4 separate regions of the Homo sapiens genome follow, and regions 2, 3 and 4 are each linked to region 1. The links are contacts of gene promoters, found by promoter capture Hi-C in blood cells and fetal thymus (Javierre and others, 2016). All regions are on one chromosome and are shown on one strand. Each heading gives the region's core, a stretch centred on a gene start or on the middle of the fragment in contact. The rest is flanking DNA. Distances are from core to core; before and after follow the strand shown.

Region 1 (6,834 bases), core at 2,669-5,168:
CTTTGCCTGTGTCTCTATCACAGTCAATACTATACTTTGGACAAATTCTCTCCGCTGCCACTCTCTTAAAATTTTCACATAAAAATCTTGTCTCTCCAACTAAAACAGAAGCTCCTCAACCCTAAAACTTAAAGTATAATAATAATAAAAATTAAAAAAAAAAGAAAGGTAGGGGTGGGAGGGGTGGAGGGTGGTCCTCTGCTACTGGCTCAGAACCAGAGCACTGAGCAAGGCTCTTAGCACACAAGGCGGGCACTACAACAATTGATGGTCTATACTTGAGTATTGTTCCAAATGACCTCTATGCCTAGATGTTGGGAACTTAAGAAGGACTGTGTACCAAGTCCTTGAGGTCTTGGGACCACTGACATTTTGCCAAATTTAGCACAAACTTTGAGGTGTTGTCTAGATTGCATTGTCTTCCTTCCCTTGGATAAGACATGTCTTTCTCTGCCTCCAGAAACTCTTTGGGTCCACAACACCTTACCAGCTTTACTCATAGAACATGAGCATGTGATCTGGTCTCTTCATGGAATCCAAGAAGTATTTATCTTTTTTGAATAGCCAAAATATGTAAGGGTGAAGGGAAGGAGTTATAATTGCCTGGCCACTGTGTGATTTCTGAAATTGGAAATATGTCTACACTGAAAGTACAGTGATTCTGTGAAAACCCCAGGTAGTTGTCCGGGATTAACTGCTCGAGTCCCTAAAGCAAGAAGCAAGAAGCAAGAAGCACAAAGGCAGAACAAGCTGTGCACCACAGACACAACATCTTACACAAGACTGAAGCTGGGAGCACATGCTTCCAGACAGTTGTTTGGAGGGTGCATTCAACTCTGTCAGAAAGCTTGACTCCAGACTCCCAGTGTTTTTCTACACATGAATACAGAATTGTACGAAAGAAGTATCTGGTTTTTTGTTCAATCTTCACACGCCTTCCTGATTTTTTTTTTTTTTTTTTTGTGATGGGAATAACAATGGTATGAACCTTAAAAATGGCAAAGTCAGAGGCAGGGTGCATTATACACAAAACATACAGCTTTATCATTTCAAACATTCTTCAGAGATCATATGATTTGGAAACATAAAATGCAAGTGCATTGTTATAAGGAAAGTCAGTCCTGTAAATACTAACTAAAGTGTCATAATAAATGTCTCTGTTGTAATCAAATATTACACATTTATCTTGAAAAAAAAATCAGCAGCAAACAGAGCTCTTTGCAGCCCCCCAGTGGTTGGAAGGGGAAAGAAGCGAGAACAAGGGGAATTCGGACAGTTAACTCTCAATCTGCAGGGCCAATAAACTTTTTACCCTGGAAAAACAAATGTCTAGTTTGTTTGTTTGTTTGTTTGTTTTTGAGACGGAGTTTCATTCTTGTTGCCCAGGCTGGAGTGTAATAGCGCGATCTCGGCTCATTGAAACCTCTGCCTCCCGGGTTCAAGTGATTCTCCTGCCTCAGCCTCCCGAGTAGCTGGGATTACAGGTGCGTGTCACCACACCCATCTAATTTTTTTTTTTTTTTTTTTTAGTAGAGACGGGGTTTCTCCATGTTGGTCAGGCTGGTCTCGAACCCCTAACCTCAGGTGATCCGCCCGCCTCGGCCTCCCAAAGTGCTGGGATTACAGGCATGAGCCACCATGCCCGACCTGACAAATGCCTAGTTTTAACCAAAAAATGAATATGTTCTAAGTCGGATGTTGGTTAAAATGCACATAATTATCCACATAAAGTGAATCATTGAAAGCCTGGGGTTTTTATTTTCCTTTTTTATCTCTCTCCTTCTCTTTCTCGCTTACCTCTATGAAGCTTCCCATTCTGACCTGAGAACTCAGCCGTGCATTATTACTACTCACACCAGATCCTCTTCCCAAATGATTTCTTCCCTGTTCTGCACTTGCTGTGTGCTTCTCACCCTCCTTCAAACTCCCGTTTGCAGACATCTGCTTATATCAATTACTGTGCTACAAAGTGATGGGAAATCTCCTCCCCCCCACCCCCCAAAAAAGTAATTTGCCTGTTTAACAAAGTGTCTATATTGGGAAAGCAGGGGGGAGATGTTTGGAAGTTCATTGTTTTTTATTCTTGTCTTCACCAAAACAACAGTCTCTCAGCTTGATCCCTTCATATCAGCCACTTCTTTACCGCACTCTGAGATATTTTCATAACGAGTTTTTCTCTCATGAAATTTCTCATTTCTAAAAATAGAAACTGCCTGTCAAAGATACACCAAGAAAAAAAATGCTGAAAAGAAACAGAATGCCTGCTTATAAAATATTTTCAAAACGATGACACCAAAAAATTTAAAAATTACAGATAAACATAATCTCCCATGTTCTTCTCAAATATATCACTCCTAAGTTATTGGAGGGCCAGTTTCTAAAGCCCAGACAAGGCGAACTGCCTGCCTCCAGCTCTCCCCAACCTCCAAGAGTAATGCAGCCTGATAGGCATTTCCTCCCCTAAGCTAGTGGTCAAGTGTAGCTCAAAGCAAGCGTCCGAATCAGGCTGTCTCTAACAGGGAATCTATTTTCTGACAGGCGCAAACCCCTCCGCCCTCTGATGATTGCCAGGCAGGATTTGGGGACCAAGTACCCCTCATTGTCACCTGGCGGATTTGGCCACAGTCCACAAACCAAACGCAAGCCCTACTTATGAACAGCGCAGAGAATCAACAAGTTATCACTAAGCTGTGCGCCCCAGCTAGGATCTGCCACAGCCTCCCCTGAGCCCACCACTGTTCCCCACCAGCTCTGCTCTTCCCTCGCCTCCCCACCCCCTGCAAGCACGTGACCTCCTGTTTCAGACCCGGCCCCCCACCCCAGAGCTCCCGACGCTCCCAGGCAGCTGTCAAAGTCCGGGGTTCGCCGGCTTCCAGGCTCGCCTGACAGAGCCAGGCGTTCGCTTGGATCTAGCTTCCTTCCGGGCGGGAGGCGCGGGGAGGTCAAGCTCTTCAAAGGAACAGGGTGGGCAGGGGAGTGGTGCCAGGTTAGGCTCCTCGGTCCTCGGTAGTCAGAGCGGAGTAGGAAAGGCAGCGGGGAGCCTCACATCCCGCGCTTCTTCCGGACCCCGCCGCCTACCCGGAGGGTACACGTTCCCCGGGGAGTCAGAGACGCCCTGGGGGAGCTTGAGGAGTGTCAGCGGGGCCTTCCCTGGAGCCTACAAGTTTCCACTCCATCCCCGAGCTGGGAGACAAGTCACAGCTCGGCTCCCTCCTTGAAAGCACCGCCGCTGATCCTTCCCCCAGGCAGGAGCAGACACCTGCTTGTCCCCACGGCGCGCCAGCGCCCTGCTCTAGCCGTCCCTGGGCCAGAGCTCGAAACTCACCCACTGCGCTCCCACCCCGGCACAGACAGCCCTCAAAGTTGTCCGTACTCCCCAGACCTCGCCTTCTGCTCAGCCCCCGGACCCCGCCCAGGGGTTGAGTTGACGTCCGCGGGTGGACCTCTCTGGTCCGCTGCGCAGGGAACTGACTTCGGGAATCCAGGGCGCACAGAGGCCAAAGAAGCTGCGGCAAGGGAGGGTGGGCAAATCCAGCTTGAGCCTAGGTCCTTGCCGCTTTCACCCTCAAGCCTGCCCTGCCTCCCTCCTGGGAGAAGAGCAAACTTCCCCAGCACCCACCTTTAGCCGCGAGGAGGCGGCGCTGCCGGCTGTCCCCGCCACCGCCGCTGCCGCTCCCCACGCCCAGCGCCAGCAGGAGCGGCACCCAGCACAGCCGCCCAGGCAGCATCCTCGCAGCAGCCGCCAACGAGCTGCAGCCGCCGCCTACTGTCCGCGCCGGCTCTCGCCTCCCGGTGCCTGCCGCACCGTGGGCCGCCTCGCCGTGCCCGATGGGTGCGCTTCTAGCGCTGCCGCCGCGGCGCTCGGCCTCGGGTTCCCGCCGCTGCGCCGCTAGCTCGCCGGCAGCAGCCGCGCTCACTGGCGCGGACCCGGAGCGGCTCAGGCGCTCACCCCGGGACGGCCCGTGACGTCACGGAGGGAGGGAGGTGGCTCGTGCATATTCATGAACGCGGGCATCGGCGCCGGGTTCCGCGCTCCCCGCCCCAAGGCCCCGACCCCCAACTTTCCTCAGCCGTCTCCACGCTCCGGGGCCCTGTCCAGGTCCCCCTGCCCAGTCGGGACCGGGCCCCCAGAGGACCCTGGTGGGCGGCTCCGGAGAGCCCTCCAGCCCCGCGCCTCCACTCCGACTCTCGGAAAAGCTGCCGCAAGGGATGGAGGGCTCCCCCAGAAAGTGGCCACCCGAGGCCTGAGGGTCATCTGGGGTGGCGCGAGGGACCCTGACCTGCCATGCCCTTTGAACTGATATCTGGGCGGAGAGGACTGACGGGCGTCGCTAAGGGTCTTGCCCTTGGCTGGGTCTCTGGGCGTTCTGCGTCGACTGGTCTGGGGAGGGCGCCAGGCGCACACTAGAGCAGCGCCTAGTGGTGCTAGGGGTTGTCGGGCAGAGTAGATAGCCTTGGACCTGGATGGCAATGGCAGGGCTCCGCGTCATCTCCGAGAAGCAGGGGCAGCCGCGGCTCTTAGAGGCTGATAGAACAGCTAGATCAGAAAACTTGGGGTGCTGGGCCTGCTGAGGCTGCAGTGGCGGGGGCGGGGTGTCAAACTTAAAATTCCCTGCGGTATGGTGCCATGCAAGAAGTTGCCACCTTTATGTTGTCACTCCGCATCTCTAAGAACAGGCTACTTGACGTCATGCATTGTAAAATCTCGTGCCGTTGAGTATTGTCAGTTCCCTGAGTGCAGGAGCCAGTGCATATCTTTGCATCCTCAACCATCTCTAGGCCGTGAAAAAATTACAAAGGTACTCAAAAAAAAAAAAAAAAAAAACAGTAAGGACTCAGAATAAATCCTTGACCATATTTACCTAAATGAAATGCCAACATCACACACAATGCAGGGTTTATGAGGAATAGTTTGGAAATAAAGTAGATATGGAAATACAGAAACAAACAATATTATTTATTTAGTCATTGATTCAAGACGTTTGCTGAGCATCTAGACAGGCTGTATCACCCTGACAGTGAGCACTGGATTAGTCGTTGGAGATCCAAAGACAGAGGAGAGAGTGGGTCCTATCCTCAAAGCTTTTGTTCCCTGCTTGGGGAGCCAGAGAGGGCAGCAAAGGCAATTACAATCCCTTGTAAGTGTTATGGTCCTGCACATTCTTTATGTTGCTAGCTATGAGCCTATACAAATCAATTAACAAAATGTATATATTGCAAGAGTGCCTAAACAGCATCCTCTAATTAATAACTGTAGTTTGAGGTACTCAACAAAGCCATAAAATCCATTAACAGCACTCCTGCAGCTCAGCCTCCCTCTGCTGCCCTGGCAGCTCACTCAGAGCCTCTGCAGTGGTGAAAGCCAACTCTTCAGGATTTCAGGCACCAGGATGTGCTTGGGGACAGCAGTGAATCATGGTGGCTGCATGGGGCTCAGACCCATGTGGGGCTCTTTACCTTCAGGTCTCCTTTAGCCCACAAATCAACATGTGCGCTATTATTCTCATTTCACACATGATGAAATAGAGGCTCAGGGAAGTTAGGTAACTTCCTTGTTCAGGGTCAAAAATCTAGTAAATGTCCCAGGCCGACACCAGGACCTTGCCTTTGTCAGATGTTGGTTTCAGAATCTAGAAAAGATGGCATGGAAAGGTGGTAGCTGACCCAGGGAAAATAAAAAAGCCAGAAAATAGAAGAGAAATGTAAATTTGTCTCATTTTCTTCCATTTATGCTCCACCCAACTACATATCTGCCCTCCTCCCTTCATTTTCTCTAATAAGTAGACCTATCTTACTGACTTACCTGCACTGTTCTTTGATGTCATTATACTGGGCTTTGTTAAGATCACTGATTGGTCCTAATAATTTTATGTGAAGTTTCAAATTCAGACCAAATAATGAGAAACAGGGGGAAATGTAGCTTATTAGGAAGCATCTCCATGGAGAGATAGCCAGGAAAGAACACAGCAAAGAAAAACACTAGGGGGTGGGCCAGTTACCAACAGGCACAAAATTGCTAGCCTCCATCTCCTCCTCTACCAATGAGGGTAATAACAATGCCTATTGTGGTAGATCAAGTGCACTAATGGCCATTTGTCCATGCTTCTCTGAATCTGTTTCCTTTGGATGTGCCCTCCCACCCCAACTCTGAGCTAGGCCATATGATTTGCTTTGGTCAGTGGGACAGTGGCATGCATGTTGCTTCTTCCTGCCTTGAATCCCTGCTGCTGACATGAGAACAAGCCTAAGCTAACCTGCAGAAGGGTAGGAGACTGCATGGAGTAGAACTGAGCTGTTTCAGACAGCCAAGGTCACACTAGGCTGGTCAGAACCAACTGGCCTACAGGCTGGCTAACCACAGACACATGAGCAAGCCCAGGTAAGCTCAACCAAGATCAGCCAAGCCTGGCTCACATCAGAACTATCCAGCTGACTTATGAGATACAATAAGTGGTTTTTGCATTAATTCATTATGTTCTGGAGCAATTGATTGAGCAGCATTATGCCTACTTCATAAGATCATTACAAGAAGTAAATTTTAAAAATATGTTAAACAGTATGTTGCACATAGTCAATGTTCAATAAATGTAAAAATGTCTTCCCCTTATCCTACTTCCTATATCTCTGAAAACAAGTGTGCCAGTCACACATTTGATTTGATTCATTTGGGGAACAGGCAACAATGACCTGCCTTAGAGGAGATAAAAGTAAGTAAGTTCAGCCTTAGAAATACTCAGACATAAGAGCTTTTAAGTCCACATCATTTGTATGGAGCACTACTGTGCTGTCTGCTTCTGCTGGGCCATTGCAGATGCAAAAGATGGGGTAAAGCAA
Region 2 (6,834 bases), core at 2,998-5,497, 950 kb before region 1:
ATGTAGGAAAATATGCATTATATTTTTTCTTTAATATGTTAAATTAATTATATTAATGGATTTTTTTACAGTAAACATACTTTGAATTCCTAGGATAAACTCGACTTGGTAATGAATACATTATATTTTTCACAGATTGTTGGATTCAGTTTGCCAATATTTTATGATTTTTGTGTCTATGTTAATGAGTGAGATTGGCCTGCAATTTTTCTTATTTTATCCTTTCATGGCTTGATATCAAGGTTATGATAGCTTGAAAGAATAAAGGTGGGTAGTTTGAAGTATCTGTTTCTTAAAAGTTTGGTAGAACTCACTTGCATATCTGTCTTGTTTAGCCTGATGTTTAATTTTTGGAAAGGATTTTAAAATGTTTTAAACTTTTTAACACAATTTCTTTAATGACTATAAATCTATTTAAGTTTTTTTGCTGAGTAATTTTGAAACCACCTTTGTAAAAATTATGACAGTGAGAAATCTGATATAGCTGACTCCTTTGTGCTTCTAACCTCACAAGCTAACTGCCTTTGTTAACTCTAAAATAAAGATGATAACAGTCCCTTAATGAAACTAACTCCCTCCTTGCTCAGGGACCAAAACCATCTTTGTAAGAACAGTGAAAAGCCACAAGATTAAGATTATGGGAGGGGTCTGAATCTGCTAAAATATGAGTGTAGTTAAATGATAACAAGCCCTTATTCCCTAGCCTGCCTTTCTATACTCATTTACTGCTCTCGAGTTCATAAGATTTGTAACTTCCTCAATTGCTTCTATAGATAACATCATTATTGTCAAAATCTAAGATTGGTGTTTTCTAGACCCTGCATTCTGATGGACCAGCTGATGTGCTATGTGGACTGATAATGTATACCAATAAACCGGCTCATCTGGTCTTGTGGTCCCACTCAGGAACTGACTCAGTGCAAGAAGAGCTTTAACCCAACCAATCATATTCCCCATTTCCTAGCCCCCTGCCTGCCAAACTATCCTTGGAAAACCCTAGCCTCTGAACTTTCAAGAAGGGCTGATTTGAGTGATAAGCTCCTGTTCTTCCTCTTGGCTAGCCCTGTGATTATTAAACTCCTGCGATATGACTGTTTCAATGAATTAGCCCTGTCCGTGCAGCATGCAAGAAGAACCCATCAGGTGATTGCAGTTTTATCAAGTTAGATTTTTCTGGGAATATCTATTTTTTATGTTTTAAAATTTACTGATACAATATTGTTCACAATATTCCCTTCCCTTCTTCTTTCTCTCCCTCTCCCTCCCTCTTTTTCCTTCCTTCCTTTCTTCCTTCCTTCCTTCCTTCCTTCCTTCCTTCCTTCCTTCCTTCCTTCCTTCCTTCCTTCTCTCTCTCTCTCTTTCTCTTTCTTTCTTTCTTTCTTTCTTTCTTTCTTTCTTTCTTTCTTTCTTTCTTTCTTTCTTTCTTTCTTTCTTTCTTTCTTTTTGACAGAGTCTCACTCTGTTGCCCATGCTGGAGTGCAGTGGCGCAATCTCAGCTCACTACCACCTCCATCCCCTGTGTTCAAGCAATTCTCTGCCTCAGCCTCCCAAGGAGCCGGGGCTACAGGCATGCACCACCACACCCGGCTAATTTTTTTTCTTTATATTTTTATCCTATAAGCTTTGTGTTTTTTAATTATACTTTAAGTTCTGGGGTACATGTGCAGAATGTGCGGGTTTGTTACATAGGTATACACGTGCCATGGCGGTTTGCTGCACCCATCAACCCGTTATCTACATTAGGTATTTCTCTAATGCTATCCCTCCCCTAGCCCCCCACTCCTGGACAGGCCCCGTGTGTGATGTTCCCCTCCCTGTGCCCATGTGTTCTTATTGTTCAACTCCCACTTATGAATGAGAACATGTGTTTGATTTCCTGTTCTTGTGTTAGTTTGCTGAGAATGATGGTCTCCAGCTTCATCCATGTTCCTGCAAACGATGTAAACTCATCCTTTTTCATGGGTGCATAGTATTCTATGGTGTGTATGTGCCACATTTTCTTTATCCAGTCTGTCATTGATGGGCATTTGGGTTGGCTCCAAGTCTTTGCTATTATAAATAGTGCTGCAATTAAACATATGTATGCATCTGTCTTTATAGTAGAATGATTTATAATCCTTTGAGTATATACCCAGTAATGGGATTGCTGGGTGAAATGGTATTTCTAGTTCTAGATCCTTGAGGAATCACCACACTGTCTTCCACAATGGTTGAACTAATTTACAGTCCCACCAACAGTGTAAAAGTGTTCCTATTTCTCCACATTCTCTCCAGCATCTGTTGTTTCCTGACTTTTTAATGATCGCCATTCTAATTGGTGTGAGATGATATCTCATTGTGGTTTTGATTTGCATTTCTGTAGTGACTAGTGATAATGAGCTTTTCTTCATATGTTTGTTGGCTGCATAAATGTCTTCTTTTGAGAAGTGTCTGTTCATATCCTTTGCCCACTTTTTGATGGGGTTGTTCATTTTTTCTTGTAAATTTGTTTAAGTTCCTTGTAGATTCTGGATATTAGTCCTTTGTCAAATGGATAGATTGCAAAATTTTTCTCCCATTCTGTAAGTTGCCTGTTTATTCTGATGATAGTTTCTTTTGCTCTGCAGAAGCTCTTTAGTTTAATTAGATCCCATTTGCCAATTTTGGCTTTTGTTGCCATTGCTTTTGGTGTTTTAGACATTAAGACCTTGCCCATGCCTATGTCCTGAATGGTATTGTCTAGGTTTTCTTCTAGAGTTTTTATGGTTTTAGGTCTTACATTTAAGTCTTTAATCTATCTTGAGTTAATTTTTGTATAAGGTGTAAGGAAGGGATCCAGTTTCAGCTTTCTGCATATGGCTAGCCAGTTTTCCCAACACCATTTATTAAATAGTGACTCCTTTCCCCATTGCTTGTTTTTGTTAGGTTTGTCAAAGATCAGATGGTTGTAGATGTGTGGCATTATTTCTGAGGCCTCTGTTCTGTTCCATTGATCTATATATCTGTTTTGGTACCAGTACCATGCTGTTTTGGCTACTGAGCCTTGTATCAGGTAGTGTGAGGCCTCAGGCTTTGTTATTTTTGCTTAGGATTGTCATGGCTATGTGGGTTCTTTTTTGGTTCAATATGAAATTTAAAGTAGTGTTTTATTCTGTGAAGAAAATCAATGGTAGCTTGATGGGGATAGCATTGAATCTGTAAATTACTTTGGGTAGTATGGCCATTTTCACGATATCAATTTTTCCTATCCATGAGCATGGAATTTTTTTTCCAATTTTTTGTATCCTCTCTTATTTCCTTGAGCAGTGGTTTGTAGTTCTCCTTGAAGAGGTCCTTCACATCCCTTGTAAGTTGTATTCCTAGGCATTTTTTTCCTCTTTGTAGCAATTGTGAATGGGAGTTCACTTATAATTTTTTTTTTTAGACGGATGCTCGCTCTGTGGCCAGGCTGGGAGTGCAATGGCATGATCTCGGCTCACTGCAACCTCTGCCTCACAGGTTCAAGGGATTCTCCTGCCTCAGCCTCCTGAGTAGCTGGGATTACAGGTGTCTGCCACCAAGCCTGGCTAATTTTTGTATTTTTAGTAGAGAAGGGGTTTCGCCATGTTAGCCAGGCTGGTTTCCAACTCCTGACCTCAAGTAATCTTCCTGCCTTGGCCTCCCAAAGTGCTGGGATTACAGGCATAAGCCACTGCACCTGGCTCTACAATATATTTTCTTATCCTTTATTCTTAAAGCTTATTTACATTTTTATATTGAAGTAATTTCAAACTTACAGAAAAATTATAAGAATCATACTAAATAATTCATGTATATCTTTTAACCAGATTCACCCATTGTTAATATTTTGCTATATTTGCTTTATCATTCATCTTTATATCATATATATGAAAATATATGTAATATAAATGTATATATATTTCACGTGAAATATATATATTTGACACACGCACATGTATATTTATTTCTTTTCCCCCTGAATCATTTGAGAATAAGTTAGAGACATTATGCTCCTTCAAACCTTAGTAATTCAGTATTTATTTCCTAACAACAAGATAACTCTTTTATATGACCACAGTATAATTAATGAATTAAAGAAACTCGATGTTTAAGCATTAAACAATTTGACATATAGTCCACATTCCACTTTTGCTAGTTGTTCAATAATGCTTTTCATAGCATTGTTTCTTCTGGTCCAAGAAGAATGTTGCTTTTAGTTATCATCACTCTTAGCCCTTAGATTTCCTTCAATCTGGAATAGTTCCTCAGGGTTTCCTTGGTCTTTCACAACGTTTATATCTTAGAGACTACAGATAGTTATTTTGTAGAAGTTGCTCATCTTGAATTTGTCTCGTGTTTCCCCTGGTCAGATTTGGCCTATGCATTTTTTTTTTTTTTTTTTTTTGGTAAAAGTACTACATAAGTGATATTGTTTGCTTCTCAGTGCATAATGGTAGGAGTCAACTGATGATGATTTGGGATTGTAACTTTGATCACTTGGTTAAGATGGTGTCCAGTAGTTTTCTACATAGTAAAGTTACTATTTTACTTTCTGTAATAAATAAGTAATTTGGGGGAGGTACTTTGAAATGGTGGACATATCCTTCTCCTCATCAAACTTTTACAAATGCATATTCATTATTGATTTTTGTCTGCATGAACCATCATTATGATGGTTTCAAAATAATGATTTTCTTATACCTTCATTTCTTCTATGTTTATAAGTTGACATTCTCATTTCTAGTAAGGATGAATTGTTGTGTCCTCCAGGGTGGAAGAGACCTTGGGTAATAAGCTTGCCACTGAGTGGCTGCTTTATGTCCTCAAGGGATTGTACCATATCAAGCACTCAGCATTGGTGTCTGTTGCTAATGGTCAGGCATTCAGTAGTGGTGGTAGCTAGATCAGCCTTGGAGAGAGAGAGCCCATCATTTCAGGCCATCACGACTAATCCATTCATTTATGGGCCCTTTGTAAGGATTGAGATGGCTGAGGACAGGGGCTGACAGGCATTCATTAGACCAGTCATCCTGTCCATATGCTTATTCAGTGCTTCTTCTGCCACACGTGCTCTCTGGTGGGCTCTAGTGTGAGACACAAAGATCAACACATTATGTGCCCATTCTTATAGCTCCAGCCACATGCCTCTTCCTCAGACATGCTTGGTTTCAATCCTCTAGTGTTGTTCCCTTGAGGCCCTTGACCAAGCAACCAAGCCATTCTCCACCACCTAGAAGTCTGTGTATATTCTTACTTTTGGCCGCTTCTCTCCAGACACAAAGCAGATGACCACTGGACTTGAATTGGCACCCAGAGTTATTTTGGGTGTGTCTTTAGTGCAGCAACAGTCCATATTTTTAGCTCACGCCAGCATATCATGCTAGCCTAATCCTTATAAAGCCCTTTTCCTGCTCCTTTTCTATTCTGTCAACTGTCTGTGGAGAAATCCCCAAGGGGCCATAGGTATTATGTCTGGAATTGGTTCTCTCCGAGGGGTTCTTGGTCTCGCTGACTTCAAGAATGAAGCCATGGACCCTCGCAGTGAGTGTTGCAGTTCTTAAAGATGGTGTGTCCGGAGTTTGTGTTTTCAGATGTTCAGATGTGTCTGGAGGAGTTTCTTCCTTCTGGTGGGCTCGTGGTCTCGCTGACTTCAGGAGTGAAGCCACAGACCTTCACAGTGAGCATTACAGCTCTTAAAGGTGGTGCGTCCAGAGTTGTTTGTTCCTCCCGGTGGGTTTGTGGTCTCACTGGCTTCAGGAGTGAAGCTGCAGACCTTTGCAGTGAGTGTTACAGCTCATAAAGGTAGTGTGGACCCAAAGAGTGAGCAGCAGCAAGATTTATTGTGAAGAGTGAAAGAAAAAAGCTTCCACAGCGTGGAAGGGGACCTGAGAAGGTTGCCGCCACTGGCTCGGGTGGCCAGCTTTTATTCCCTTATTTGGCCCCGCCCTCATCCTCCTGATTGGTCCGTTTTACAGGGTGCTGATTGCCCCATTTTACAGAGTGCTGATTGGTCCGTTTTTACAGAGTGCTGATTGGTGCGTTTACAAACCTTTAGTTAGACACAGAGTGCTAATTGGTGCATTTTTACAGAGTGCTGATTGGTGCATTTACAAACCTTTGGCTAGACACAGAGCGCTTATTGGTGCATTTACAATCCTTTAGCTAGGCAGAAAAGTTCTCCAAGTCCCCACCCAACCCAGAAGTCCAGCTGGCTTCACTTCTCAATCCTCCTTCTAAACAGGACACCACAAGTGTTGTTGGGAATTGGCCGATGACCGCTCTAGCTATTTCCTGCTGGATAGGGGCAAAGAAGGGGCCCTGCAGTTGTAGTGTCCTCCAGAGGGGAACTCTTTAGGCCAGTGAAAGGGCCAGCAGGTTGGTCTGGGGTCCTCAGTAGAAGTTGTTAGTTGAGCTCATTTGGGGTTCCATTTGTAAGACCATCTGTAGCTTGATGGCCTCAATTCTAGAGGAAACAAATTTGACAAGGAGATTAAAAATACAGGGTCCAAAGGCAAGAAATAGCAAGATGGCTGCCACAGGACCTAGAAAGGGGAGAAGCCATGTTGCCCAACTCCAGAGGTTGGTATAAGAATTTGAAAGGCGTTGTCTGATTTTAGAAGCCTTTTCCTGTAAACTCTGGGTGGCATCTTGTACTATCCCTGACTAGTTAGTGTAAAAACACTTTTCCCCTAAGAAGGCGCAAAAGTCCTCCTTTCTCAGCAATGAGGAAGTCTAGGCTTTGGCAGTTTTGGAGCGTCACTGCTGCCAAAGAGTCTATTTGGGATTGTAGGGTAAGGATAGATTTCGTTATTTCTTGCAAACTGTCTGAGAAATCCTTTGAGAGTGTGTAGTAGT
Region 3 (6,834 bases), core at 2,480-4,979, 910 kb before region 1:
GATTTTACTATATACTAATTATACCTCAATAAAAAAGTAAATGAATAAACAAACAAAAACCAGAGCAGCCATAAGATGGTTGACATAGTTGCCTCTCTGGTTTTTAGTTCCTCTGTATTTCTGGACCCTGGAGATTTCCCATTCTTTTTTGTGAGTTCAGCTGAGGATGTAAAAGAAAATTTTTGATTTGATTGCCCACATCCCTTGCCCATTCCTTGAAGGTAGCTCACAAGAGTCTGCCATACTGCAGACCTGGAAGTCCTTGGTTTTCTTCCATCTTAAATCTTAATGCATCTTAAATGCATAAAGCAGGTGGCTCATCTTATGGAATACAACATATTTTTAGAATAGTTGTTTCTCCATCTAGGTGTTCAGAACAAATTACATTGGGGTACATTTATGTTCAGGGAGAGCTGTTGGAGTGGGCCCTTTTGGTTATTTAAGTGTAAATTCCCCATTGGTGAAAGAGCATAATAGGGCCTTGTGTGGCCTGATGGAGACAAGTCCTAGAAATGCTTTTTGTGATCTGAGATGGTTTGGGAGAAAAGGTATACAAATTTTCACAGGGGCCAAGGAGTCTTCTGTGGGGAAGGCATTGAGAGTCTGACTACCATCATCTAGAAGTTCAGCTGTAGTAGACCTTCTCTAATGGACTGGGATGACCTAGTCTGAAGTCTTGCAGTGAGAAAAGAGGCATTCTCTGGGAAGTCTGGACTGATAACCCAGGCTCAAAATTAGGGGATAAGGGATCACGGAGAAGCAATTTCTGATACAAGATGAGGCTGAGGTGAGAAGCCTTTTATGACCCACCCACCTTTCCACTAAATTTATGGTTGAGGAATAATGGCTGTGCATGACAGTGTAACTTAAATGACTGCAACATGAACCAACCGTGAGAGTCTTATGGCCTGTACAGGGACAGAGGAGCAATAAGAGCACCACCTCTGCTGGGGACAAGGAATCAGCTGATTGTTTGGCACTAGTTGTTAACAGCAATCCTGGAAGGCAGCAACACATTCAATGACAGATGAAAACTGAGTCTTCCTGTGGACAGAACAGACTTTCCAATTCACACTCCACCTGGCCTTCAGGTGGAACTGAACCCTTCAGGTTAAATAAGCTCCAGTGGTGTGGTAGACTAAGTGCTTGGTTAATCAAAAGTCATTCACAGGTTCTTCCCTCCTTGGCTTCTCTGTGATAGAGGGTGGAAAATGAACTTACTCAACTTCCCAGCTGCCCTTGCAACCAGAGCTGGTCATGTGATCTGGTTCTGGCCAATAGATGTAGGCAGAATTCACATGCCAAATTAAAAGGCAAAATCTCTTTGCCCTTTGCTTTTCCCTCTTCTTCCTGTCTAGAGGTGCAGCAGCCTTCCTGTGACCACAAGAATGAATCACATACTAAGGATGGTGAGACAGGAGCCTGGATTTTTGATGGCATCCTTGTGCAGCATTCCATCCCTGGGCTGTCTAATTCTGGATTTCCTGTTATGGAAGGGAAACACATGCCCATTTGTGTAAGCTACTATGAATCGGGTTTTCTGTTGTTTACAGGGGAACTCATTCTATAGTGCTATAAGGGTGAGACCTCAAGGTGGTAGATACTAAACTGCTTGCAGCTGCTCAAGTGACTAATGGGAAAAAATGAAAGAAACATGCTCGTGTTGGTAACCTCAGCTGGTGATACGGATCATGCAGTTTTTGGCATTATATTATTTATTCCCAAAATAGCACTATGACAGAAGCAAAGCAGGTGCAATCCACACTTAATATTCGATACCCTTGGAAACTACAGCCCAGAGATATTCAGTGAGGAATTTTATAATTATAAAAGTAATACATATTCACTGTACAAACAGTGTAAATAGAGAAGAGCATAAAGAAGAAATTTCTTAAAATTCCCCCACAGTACATTTTGATGTGTTTCATTCTGCTTTTTTTCCTTTGTGCAAGCAGCCATTTATATACACATACTTTATGAGATTTGGATCATATTCCATAGAGTGATTTGACTTTTTTTTTTTAAATGACTTTCCAAAGGTCACATAGATTGCTCCTGTGGAAGTCAGGACAGAAGCTGGGATTAACTTGTTTAGGACTAAGAACAACCCTTTTGCTTTGATAGATAGAAGACTGTGATATACCTTCTTAGCCTTCCCTTTTCAGAGAATGAGAAGAGAGGGGATTCCAGAGAAAGCCAAGGAAGGCTATTCAAGGACTGTGGTGAGCAATGTGTAGCCCTCTCTTCAGCCTCCTTTGTTTTTTTTCACTTGGAATTCTCTTTGCTGTGCCTTGTCCTTAGTGGATCACAGTGTCCTCTGCACAAGATTGTCTTGTTTTCTAGGGTGAGGGCTCAAGGTCTCTTGACTGGCCTCAGGGGGATGGTCAGTAGTCAGAGTGGAGCCACTTGTGTTCCTCCATGCCAGTTGGAGTCCTGGGGCTCAGAAGGGTTGGAGGAGAAGGTAGAGGAAGGAAGCGATTGTAGGAGAAGAATAAAGGAGGAAGGAGAAAAGAAATAACAATATGGAAAAGGCAAAGCTCTATAGACCCCTGGTAGATGGGTTTCTCCCATCCTCATCCCCCAGCCCTGCTTTCTTGGGTCTGCACTTGGGCCTGCACTTCTGTCCCACCATCATGTTAATGACACACAAGCATACCCAATTTCAAATTCTACCTCTTCTTACTTGTTCTGACTTTAGCAAGTTCTTTAAATTCCTTGATACTCCATTCCCTTTTGTGCATTGTGAGATGACAGACAAGGCTTCCTGGACAGTGTCCACCCCACCAGCTAAGTCAGCAGTGTAAGCCATATCCTACCTGGGCATGAGGTTGATGGGAAGAACCCTGACATCTGACTCTTGCTGGGGCTGGGTAGGATGCCTGGTAGAAAGCATTATAGGGTGTCCTTGCTTCTGTCAGAGCTGGCAGGGGTTGTCTGTGTTAGCTGAGTTCTTCACTAAGAGTAAACTGATTGTATCTTCTAACATGATTGGCATAATTCATATGGTGGAGGGAGATAATTCTCTACTGCTTTCATTTACATACAAAGATTGGTGGAGGAGAAAAGGAGGATCACATTTCAAATTCACCAGCAGTTGCTAGAAGCTGACAGCCCAAGAGATGGAGCTGAAGAACACGGATGTGTCTGGGCTCTGGGAACTCCAAAATGAGTGTCTTGGGTACTGTCATGACTATCTCTCTTTTCATATCTTGTTTTTTCTCCTCTTGGCTCCTTTTTGTAAACATGCTTCATTCTCTCCCTGAAAACTGGCTTTCTTTTTCTGCTGAAACATGGCATTCAGCACCTCTAGAGATTGATACATTTCAGCTGATGCTTAAGCAGCAGCTTACATTGGCTTAAGCTGATGCTGAAATTTATCAATCACTAGAGGTGCTGGATGCCGTCAGAGAGGGGCTGACCCAATTGCTTCTCTGGTCCCGATTCCAAAATGCCCAGGGAGGGGCCTCATTGGCTGAACATGGAATAGATGGCCACAACTTGACCAGTCACTGGGGTAATGTAAGAACCGTGTAAACCCCCAGGATTATTACAGATGGATAAGGGGCAGGATTTAAAATAAGTGCTTCTACATAGGCAATTCCGTAGGTGTTCACAAGGGGAATCACATGTGAGGAGTGTCTTCAGGGGAAGGCTGGAGTGTCTGCAGAAAAATTAACAGTGAGAAACTCCTAGAGTCACCTGAACAAAGGATATGATGGGCAAGGTTGTCTGCTAGTCAATCTTACGCTGTTTACTTTGCTAGGATGTAAAGCTATTCTGTCTCCCAAAACATAACGCAAAGCCTACCATATGCTTTTTAATGCTTTGCGAGAGTGATCTCTGCGTGAAATCAAAGGCTCTGCATCTCAGGTCTGCACTGGTGCCCAGCAGAAGGGGGAGATCAGCTGTGGGCACAGCATGTGTTGAGGTAAGTGTGTTTGGAACTAGAATTTACCTCAAGACATGAAATCCCTGGGAATTTTCCAAAACCTTGAAAATAGCATTGGGTTTTCCACAAAATAACAGGTGCTGCTTAAGCCTACTTTAGTTATTATCAGTGAATTGGAGACCTCAGTTGAAATTTGTGTTCGTGTACCAAATGGATGTAAGCCTTATGTCACAAATAAGAGTTAAATGATATCTATATAGAGAGTTCAGCGTCAAGTAAGCATGCAGTAAATGATAGTTCCCGCCTCCCTCACCTACTCATTGCTAGTATTCAGGGACAATGGTTTCAAATGCTTCCTAAGATTTACTTTTGTGTGAAAGAAAATATTTTAGAAAAAGAAACAGACCTAGCTTTTCATCCATTTTGTCTCCTACTAGCTGAGTGATTTAACCTGTCAGACGTTGGTCTCTGCATCTACATGCTGAAGGTATTGATACCCATCTCAGGTGTGGGTACAATGGTGGGGCGAGAGAAGGCATGTAAAGCATTCTACTGCCTGAGGCACACTTAGGTACCCACAAAACAGTGATTACATCTCTCTCATATGTTTTTCTCATTTCTTTAATTTCACTACAAACTTCTTGAGGGCAGAGCCATGTTTATTAATAACATTTGATCTTTCTAAGGTACTATGGTATTTGCAAAGTCTTTTTTACACCCCCTGTTTATTGCAAAGTTTTCTTCAGAGCCTGTATTTCCCATTTGATTCTCATAATGGCCTTGTGAAGCAGGTAGAACAGATCCTAATTTTTTCCACTTTAAGAAGAGGCTGACTGAGTTGTGTTTAGCATAGAGCCTGGCATTTGTTGGGTGCTGAATGTTTGTTGAGTGGTTTTGAGTGAGCTCCACATGTGTAGGTACTCTATGCCTGCTGATTGAATCTATGCATTTGTTAATTCATTAAGCAAATATTTATTGACCACCTATTACGTGCCCATCTGCAAAGAACAAAAATCCTGCCCTTGTGGCACTCACCTTCTAGGGAAATGAATGAATAAATTAATGATCAAATGAATTGAGAAGAAAATGAGGAGGAGCTGCTTGAATATCAGTCCTGGATATTTTCTTTATGACTTTTGAAAAAGGAGTACTTGTAGAATTTTAGAAGGACAGATATGGAAGGAACCTTGGGGAACATCTAGTTCCACAGAATGAACATTTTAAAGCCTGGGAACACTGTTTAACTGAGAGCTTTTAACTGAGAACTGTTTAACAGTCATCCAATTTATATAGCAGACACAGTAACGGCTTCTTTGTAACTACCTCTAGTTCTTTACAAAATTTTCTCAATCCCCAATCTTTTTCCAACTACCATTTCACTTCTCACTTCTCTCACAAAACTGGGAAGGGCGTGTCACATGCTGTCTTTATTCTCTACACTCCTCGCTCCTTCTCCAACCCACTTCTGTCTGGGTGTCATTCCTATCCTCCATCAAAACTGCTCTCAAGGACCTCTGTGTTGACAAGTTCAATGGCGCTCTTCTGTTCTCGTTGTTCTTGACCTCTCAGAAACTTTGACACAGCTATTTCCTCTTCAGTGAGACACGCTCCTCTTTGATCTCCATGGAATCATTCTCACTTTCCCTCCTATCTCTTTGATCATCTTCAGTCTCTTCTATTGGATCTCCTCTTTTACCTTTATGTTTTGCAGTTTCTTATAATTCAGTCTTAGGTCTTACTCTTATTTCTCTCCATAGTCACTCCATAAGTAATCTCATTGATGCCTTCAGCTTTGATTATCATTTATATTTTGATATCTTCTAAATTTCCATCTCCAGCTCAAGTTTCGGATGAACTCCAAACTTAAATATGTAAATGCCTCCTCACCACTTTCATATCTCACATTCAACTCAAAATTAGTTATCGCAGGCTGAGATCTCCATCTCTTCCCTATTCAAACTGTTTAACTTCAGTTTTCTCTCTCTCAGGAAATGACCTCACCATTCAGCCACCTGCTCAGTACAGAGAGTCCTCTCTTATTCTTTTTTCTCCCTCAAACCAAGCATCTGATTCTACAAGCCCTGTCTCTTTGCTCCTGCTAAGTGTACTTCTCATCTTCTCAGTCTTTCCACTTCCACAGCCACTACTGTAGTTTCAGCCACATCAACTCTTGCTGGATTACAGCAATCACAGCCTCTTATCCAGTCCCTCTCTTTCCACCCTTGCTCCCCTCCAAATTATTCTTCACATATAAATTTTTAAAAGTACAAATAATTTCATTGTACTCTGAGGCTTAAAGATCTTCAAGTGGCTTTGCATTGCCTTAGAGTAAAATATCAACTCCTTTCCGAGGCATGCCATGCACTATGTGATTGGATCTTGCCTGCTCCCCAGGTGCAGATCTTTCCACTCTCCTCTCACAGGTATGTTGCATCCTGTTTTTCTATTTATTTCCCAGCGTGGGGCCAGGGTCTTTCCTGTTTCAAGGCCTCTGCACACAGAGCTCCTTCACTGAGGCTGGAACAGTTTTCCCCTCACTCTCTTTGGCTGGCTTCTTTTAAGTCTTAGATCACAACTCAAATGGCCCCTCTTCTGAGCTTTTCTAAACATCTCATTTGAACAGCTGCCTAATTTTTTCACTTCACCCTGTTGCCTTCCTTCATGGCACTTGTTACAATTAGCAGTTACTGTTCTGTCTCTTTACCTGTTTATCTTCTGCCTCTCTCATTAGATTTTGTGACATAAGGGCAGGGACCACATCTGTTTTGGTCCTTGCTAGGTATCTACTGCAATATACATGCACTCATTGAGTCAGTAACAATGGATGAGGTCCAGGTTGGAAGGTCTGCCTCCTGGTCTGTTTGTTGTGGCCTTCCTAACAGTGACTATAGAGGCTACTGTTTTTGGTTGCCTGGTCCCCATCCCCCTTACTTGGTCTAGAAACA
Region 4 (6,834 bases), core at 1,603-4,102, 810 kb before region 1:
GTGTTCCAGTAAGCACTTGAAATAGAGTTTTGCCTGTCTTAGTGCTCAGTAAATACCTAGTGGATGAATGAAGAAGCACACTACATGTCTCACTTCCTAGCAGATACCACAACTGCAGTGAAAGCTCTACGTATTTATCTGTTTAATGTCAATATTCCCACTAAACTGTAAGCTGTATGAAGTCAGAGGTTGTGTCCATTTTGCCCCTCACAGTGCCTCATACACAGTAGATGCCCAATAAATACACATTGAATGGATATGTGAGTGAATGAAAAGTTGAGTGATGGGCATTGGGTTGTATTGGTGGGGTAAAACCTAGAGGAAGCAATTAATTTTCTCCTTGGAGTTGCATCAACAATAGCTGACATGCAAAGTTCTCCCTCTTACCCAAAGCCTTCTGCTGTGGTTGATGGTGGGATCCAATGATCACAAGAAATGAGGCAACTTTTCAGATCACAAAAAGAATCAGTGAGGGGAAGATTACATTTTCCAGAGAAACAAAGGCAACCAACCTATTTATGCTTAATTATTTTATTTTAAGAGTGTCCTGGACATTTTCTTCAGGTAGTCATAGAAAAACCACATTCGATTAGGCTCTGTTCTCTAATACTAAAACAAAAACAAATGAACAAATGAAACCCATAATAAAAAGTAAACCAATAACAGTTAACAAAACAACCAACCAACCCAACTGTATAAAATAACCAGAAGACATCAATAACTCCTTTCTTAACAATTTACCCCAGGACACATGTAAAATACAGAGAAGTAGAACCTTACATGTATTAAGTGCTCTCTATATATTAACAGATGTGACTTTCGTCCTCTAAGATGCAGATCTCATCCCATGGCCCTGGCATGGTAGGATCTGTAGCTTCTTGGAGTGGATTTAACAGCTACAGGGGCTCCTTGGGGAGATGGGGCTGAGTTAGGATTATAGTTGTTGAATGTCCCTGGCTTGATGTGATGTGCCACTTTGGATGCAAGGACCAAGGAGGACTCTCTGAAGCTCTCTGCCCTGAGCCATCAGATGAAAGGTACATTTCCAGCCATGAGTATACAGTAAAGTGACAATCTTTTTCTTTGTTGGGGGACAATCATGGCTTCATTAAGTATTAATTCTTCAGGGACAGTGGGCAGGGCTTCTCTTTGGAGCCTTTATGATTTTTAAGGTAGGGTCAGCACTTAGTCATGCTGGTTAAAGGCTCACTGACAGGCTAGTCCCTGTAAACACTAGTTTATAGTCCCCAAGAGGAAAGATGATCAGTAGAAGGAGACCAGTAGGAAGGGAGTTGGGAGACCTGGAACTTAGTCCTAGATCCATGATCTTTCTGAGCCCCTCTGGATTCCACCCACTCTGCTGATTGCTGGGGGTTGCTGTGAAAATCAACTGAGTTGATGAACATGGCGATGGATAGGAAAGTCCCAAAGAGCGATATAAACGTGATTCACTGGTTGTGTAGGTGGATTTATCTGTGAATACACATAACATAAAATTTACCATCTTCACCATTTTAAGTGTACAGTTCAGCAGTTACATTCAAATAGTGGTGCAATCAATCTCCAGAGCTTCTTTCATCTTGCAATACTGAAACTCTATACTCGTTTAAACAGCAACTCCCCATTTCCCCTTCTCCCCAGCCCCTGGCAAACACCCTTTACCTTCAGTCTCTATGGCTCTAGATATCTCACATAAGTGGAATCATATAGCATTTGTCTTTTTGTAATTGGCTTATTTCACTTAGCATAAGCTCCTCAAAGTTCACCCATGCTGTAACATGTAGCAACATTTCCCTTCTTTTTGAAGATGAATAACATTCTATTAAATACAAAACCACATTTTATTTATGTGTTCTTCTGTCAATGGACACTTGGGCTTCTTCCACATTGTGATGATTATGAATAATACTTCTATGACTATGGGTATACAAATTGCTCTTCAAGACCCTGCTTTCAATTCTCTTGGGTATATACCCAGAACTGAAATCACTGGATTATGTGGTAGTTATGTTTTCAAGCTTTTGAGGAACTGCCATACTGTTTTCCACAATGGCTGCATCATTTTATATTCCCATCAGCAATACACAAGGTTTCCAGTTTCTTTACATCCTTACCCACACTTATTACTTTTTTTTTAATAGTAGCCATTCTAATGGGTGTGAGGTGATATCACATTGTGGATTTGATTTATGTTTCCTGGGTGATTAGTTACGTTGAGCAACAAGCATTTTATATGCTTGTTGGCTATTTGTATATCTTCTTTGGAGAAACATCTGGTCATGTCCTTTGTCCCTTCTTAAAATCAGGTTTTTTGTTGTTGTTTAGTTGTATGAGTTCTTTATACATAACTTCATTTTATTTATCTGATTTTCTTGCAATCCAAGCCAAACTTACCTGATTTGGGAAATAAAGAAGTCTTTATTTCCCCAAGGGTCATGAAATGAACTCATACTTTCTGTTCATGGATTATCTAATTTCATCTTCATAGCAATCTGTGAATAAGTTATTACTATCACCTTCACTTTAGGGAAGAAGAGACTAAGGCCACAAGGAGTCATTGTCTTTGACCAGGTCACAGGTAGTAACTGACAAAGCCATTACAGCCGGTAGCTAGGTGCCTAGTCTGTGCTGTGAAACTGCTCCTGTCTGCCTTGGCCAGTGCAGAGATTCCTGGGTGAGTTCTCACGGTCTGAATGACATATTCTGTACCCTCTGGACAGCCTGGTGGTCTACCTTTAGACATTATCCTGATCTCTTCCCATCCCTTGCCAATAGGCACTTCAATGTGACCCAAGTTTGTGAGTCTTAACTTAGACCAGACCTGAGGCTAGTTCTTGGAATCAGAGATTCATTCATTCATTCATTCTACAGATATTTGTTGAGCACCTACCAAGTTTTAGGTATTAAAGCAGATTATCCAGTATAAATAAGACCCAATTCTTCCCAAGTTGCTCACACCTAGTGGGGGAGACAGACACAAAATGCGTGTGTATTGTTAATTTTGTGTGTCAGTTTTACTGGGTTGTGGTGCCCAGACATTGGGTCAAACATTATTCTCGGTGTGCCTGTGAGGGTGTTTTTGGGTGAGATTAACATTTAAATTTACAGAATGATTAAAGCAGATTGCTCTCATGAATGTGGTGGGCCCCATCCAATCAGTTGAAGGCCTGAATAGAACAAAAAGGCTGATTAAGAGGAAAGTCCTCTTGCTTGACTGCTGAGCTGGGACATTGGTTCCTTCTTTACTTAGGGCAGAAACAATGGCTTTCCTGGGTCTCAAGCCTGCTGACTGCAGACCTTGTGACTTGTCAGCCTCCATAATCATGTGAACTAATTCCTTGTAATAAATCTCTCTCTTTCTCCCATCCGCCCCTTTCTTACACACACACACACACACACACACACACACACACACACACACACACACATACCCTATTGCTTCTGTTTCTCTTGAGAACCCTGACTAATACAGCACAGTTATGAAGCAGAGTGGCCAGCTAGTGGTGGAGGCATCAATGCTCTGTCACGAAGGCTCTACCAACACAGAAAAGTGGGCCTTTGATCCCAGTCTGGGAGACCTCAGGGCACATGGAACTCCTTCCTTGCATCAGCAGCCTCCATAAGGGCCACACTTCTCTGGCCTGGTAAATTCCAGGGGCCATGGCTTCCATAATGTCTAAAGCTTTCAAAGATATTGGCAGATGCATGGACTTGTGCACTCAGTAAATGTGCCTTGAATACCCTTTGTGGGATGGATCCTGTTCTAGGAATACAGTCTTGAGGAATGCAGATTCAGAAGCCCCTCCTCCTATGAGACCTATGGTATAGCAGAGATGGGAGACTAGTCAATAAGAAAATAGTAATAAGTTCCATGAAGACAATCAGTTAGGCATTGTGTTGACTTCTTGAGTTAGGTGAGAATCACATTCCAGGCAGTGAGAAGAGCCAGGGTAAAGATGAATACAGAAAGGAGGATGATGGAGCTGGACCTGCTGAGCATGGGCAGGATGGTCTAAGGTGAGACCAGAGAGCTGGGCTGGGCCCCTGACCATGGAAAAGAGCTTGGATTTTATTCCAAGTGTGAAGGAAAGTCTGGAGAGTTTGGAGTAGAATATTGTGATCTGATTTATAATGAAATAAAATGTCCCTCTGTTGCAGTTGTCTAGACAAGAGGTGATGGTGACCAGGACTAGGTGGAGACAAAAAAAGAGGGACAGGCATGGGCAGGCTTGGGATATATTTTGGAGGTAAAATTGATTAGAATTGCTGATGAATATTGGGGAAAGGAAAAAGGAGAATGGACTTGAGGAAGAAGCCCTAATCTAGGAAGCGGTGATCTGGCTGTCTCTGAGGTCAGCAGAGGCCCCAGATTGGAATTGGCAAGGGCACTGGCCACAGAGAGGGCAAGGCCAATAGGTTTTGAGCTGAGGCCTGTCATGCCACTTTCTTTAGTTCATCTGAGCATCGAGTTAACAGTTTCTAGTCTCTTCCTTAGTTATCCCATTACCTGGACCAGAGCTGTCTCTGGAAACACTTTAGATCACCAAGGAAACGTGGGGCTATCTTCTGCTTCTCTTATCTTGTCTTAAGACCTACGTACGCCTCTGCTTCCCTGAGAGGGGATGCTGCTCAGTTCCTGGGCCTCTCAGGTTCTGGGCAGAGGTCACTGCATGCCCTTGGGAGAGCTGCCCATAGGACACACTGTTCCCCTAATGTGTTAGGCTCTTCATACCTCTGCCCCATCATGCTGCACTCTGTGCCTGGAAGGCCTTTCCCCTCCTCTGAAGACTGACTCCAACATCATGCAGCAGCCCTTTCTGACAGCTGCTCCCACTCCAGGCCTCTCCTCCTTGTATCCACAGCCTCTTGGTACATGTAATAATTGTCCCTTAACTGAAGAGTCCTCCTGCATGAGCTGGTGGATTTCCAGAGGGCAGGAACCATGTCTAACTTATCCAGCCCACAGCCCAGGGGGCTCAATCATTGTTTGGATGGAAACAGCAAAAAGAATCCCATTGTTGGGTACAGCAGTAGTGGGCTGGGGGAGAACAACTTGACTTTTCCAGAGATGTCTGGCTTCTCTTCCATAAACCATGCTTCATGTACCAGCAGCACAGATGATAATAGACTCCAGCTTTATCTTCATTTCTCTGATTAGGAAGATCTACTTTTGAGTTAAGGTTGTAAATGAGGTGCTGTGACTGCTTCTTGAATAAAAGACCAAAATTTGCTTGAACTTAGGTGATAAGTGTTTTACTTTTACGACATGTTTGGCATTATGTTCAAAGCAGAATACATTAGACGTTCTTATAATACAGGCTCAGTGTTGGGCTAAAATTCAAATGTGCTCGCACAAATGGGAAAAAGTCTGGAGGCTTTAATCACAGCTTGTGATTCAGCCTGATTGACAGTGTTTCCATTTTAAAAAGTCTCTGTTTTTCATGTGAAATGAATGACTCTTTTTTCATTTTGTTCCTTTAATAGGAAATGTTCTCATCGTGGAATGAAATCTCTACAAGCATCCCATTAAATACTAAAATGTTACTGCTGTGTCTGAGTGAAATTACCATCCAGGGGAGGCATCGGATTGTAGGTGTACAATGCTAGAGTATGTTTTCCCAACTTGCTGAGCTTGGAGGCAATTTGTTCATCTGAGAACACATGCACTCAGCATCCTTGTCCTTCCTCTCCTTCAAGTGAAACCTTGTTTGCACATTAGCTGGGCCTTTTCTGGATGTCAGCTCTGGCAACTCCATTCCGTCTACTTCAAGTGAAGAAGGACTTGGTGGGAAAAATCTCAGAGTGAGTTTCTGAATCCAATCCCAGAGAAAAAGCCAGGCAGCAGGACCAGAGGTGGCGTGGAGTGCCACCCCAAGCCAGTGAGCCTTTACTTTCTTTCACTTATCCATGTTTTCTCTGCCCCTCTGACTTACAGTAGTCCAACCATCTTTGCTGCACAGTTCTCACAGTGGAACAGGGTCATTGCTACCACTCCCAAATTTGCCTGCACCAAACCAGCCACTCAGAGAGAGTCTGACCCCCTTCTCAGTCTTAAATGCAGTGCCCTTCCTTGAACCAGTCTCTAATAGCCACACATGGGTCACATTATCCAATGGAGCTTCTGCTACAACCCTGAGATTGGATGAGGGAGGGTCATTTCCTAGGAAAGCAGTAGGAAGAATGTAATCCAGGCTGCACCCATTACATTGCTAACAAGGACCCAGATCCACTCTACAACAGAGAACAAGCTTAGTGAAGCCTACCATGCTGGAATTCACATTCTGACAATGAAGCCCATAAAGACCTACTGGTGGACAAGGGGTTACACAGGACAGAGAACATGTATTTCTGATTCTATGTGGAGCTGTGACCACATGTAAATCCCAGATGCTTGCCATCACATTCTTAGGGCTTGTGCAGTTGATTTGTCTTGGCAGAGGGGCAGGGGGAGATGTCGCCACTCCTCCCAAGCCGTTTCCTTTCTCTCCCTCAGACTGGACCCTCACTAGGGGATATTTGCCACAGACCAGGAGCCTCCAGCCTCACTGATAAAGTTGCTGACCCTCAAAAACATGGCTTCTATACATCTTCTAGATGCGGTATTGGGACTGAGAAAGGCAATTTGCTAAGGTCCCACAGAGAGGAAGAAGGGACTGGGATTGGCATTCGCATATTCTTATATCTAAGGCCTATGTTTATTCCATAATACCACACTGTTCCCAGGGACAATGGATAGAAAATAGTCCTATTGTGAGAAAGGATGTAGACGTGCATGGATGGACCAGGTATCTGCTGGGATTTCCAGCTGCTAGGACCTCACGCTGGCTTAGAATC

The links. Contacts are between HindIII fragments. The CHiCAGO score rates a contact against its expected background, and 5 or more counts as called.
Region 2: a fragment that was not itself captured here is called in contact with the fragment with the promoter of CLSTN2 in region 1 in 4 of 17 cell types (endothelial precursors, total B cells, M1 macrophages and 1 more); the score reaches 10.8 in endothelial precursors.
Region 3: a fragment that was not itself captured here is called in contact with the fragment with the promoter of CLSTN2 in region 1 in 6 of 17 cell types (M2 macrophages, endothelial precursors, M0 macrophages and 3 more); the score reaches 8.2 in M2 macrophages.
Region 4: a contact is called between a fragment that was not itself captured here and the fragment with the promoter of CLSTN2 in region 1, in 1 of 17 cell types (endothelial precursors). The highest score is 5.2, in endothelial precursors.

The regions. Positions count from the first base shown.
Region 1 is chr3:139,932,269-139,939,102 of GRCh38, reverse strand. It overlaps CLSTN2 (calsyntenin 2), which reads right to left and starts at 3,918. Exons shown (of 17, transcript NM_022131.3): 1 at 3,620-3,918. The coding sequence starts at 3,728. RefSeq lists silencers at 3,771-3,830, 3,871-3,920. The HindIII fragment of the contact is 3,275 bases long and covers 1,810-5,084 here.
Region 2 is chr3:140,877,739-140,884,572 of GRCh38, reverse strand. No RefSeq gene overlaps it. Among named protein-coding and RNA genes, the nearest start is that of SLC25A36, 61 kb to the left of the region's middle. The HindIII fragment of the contact is 1,058 bases long and covers 3,719-4,776 here.
Region 3 is chr3:140,845,167-140,852,000 of GRCh38, reverse strand. No RefSeq gene overlaps it. Among named protein-coding and RNA genes, the nearest start is that of SLC25A36, 93 kb to the left of the region's middle. The HindIII fragment of the contact is 8,464 bases long and covers 1-6,834 here.
Region 4 is chr3:140,738,642-140,745,475 of GRCh38, reverse strand. No RefSeq gene overlaps it. Among named protein-coding and RNA genes, the nearest start is that of TRIM42, 64 kb to the right of the region's middle. The HindIII fragment of the contact is 1,664 bases long and covers 2,021-3,684 here.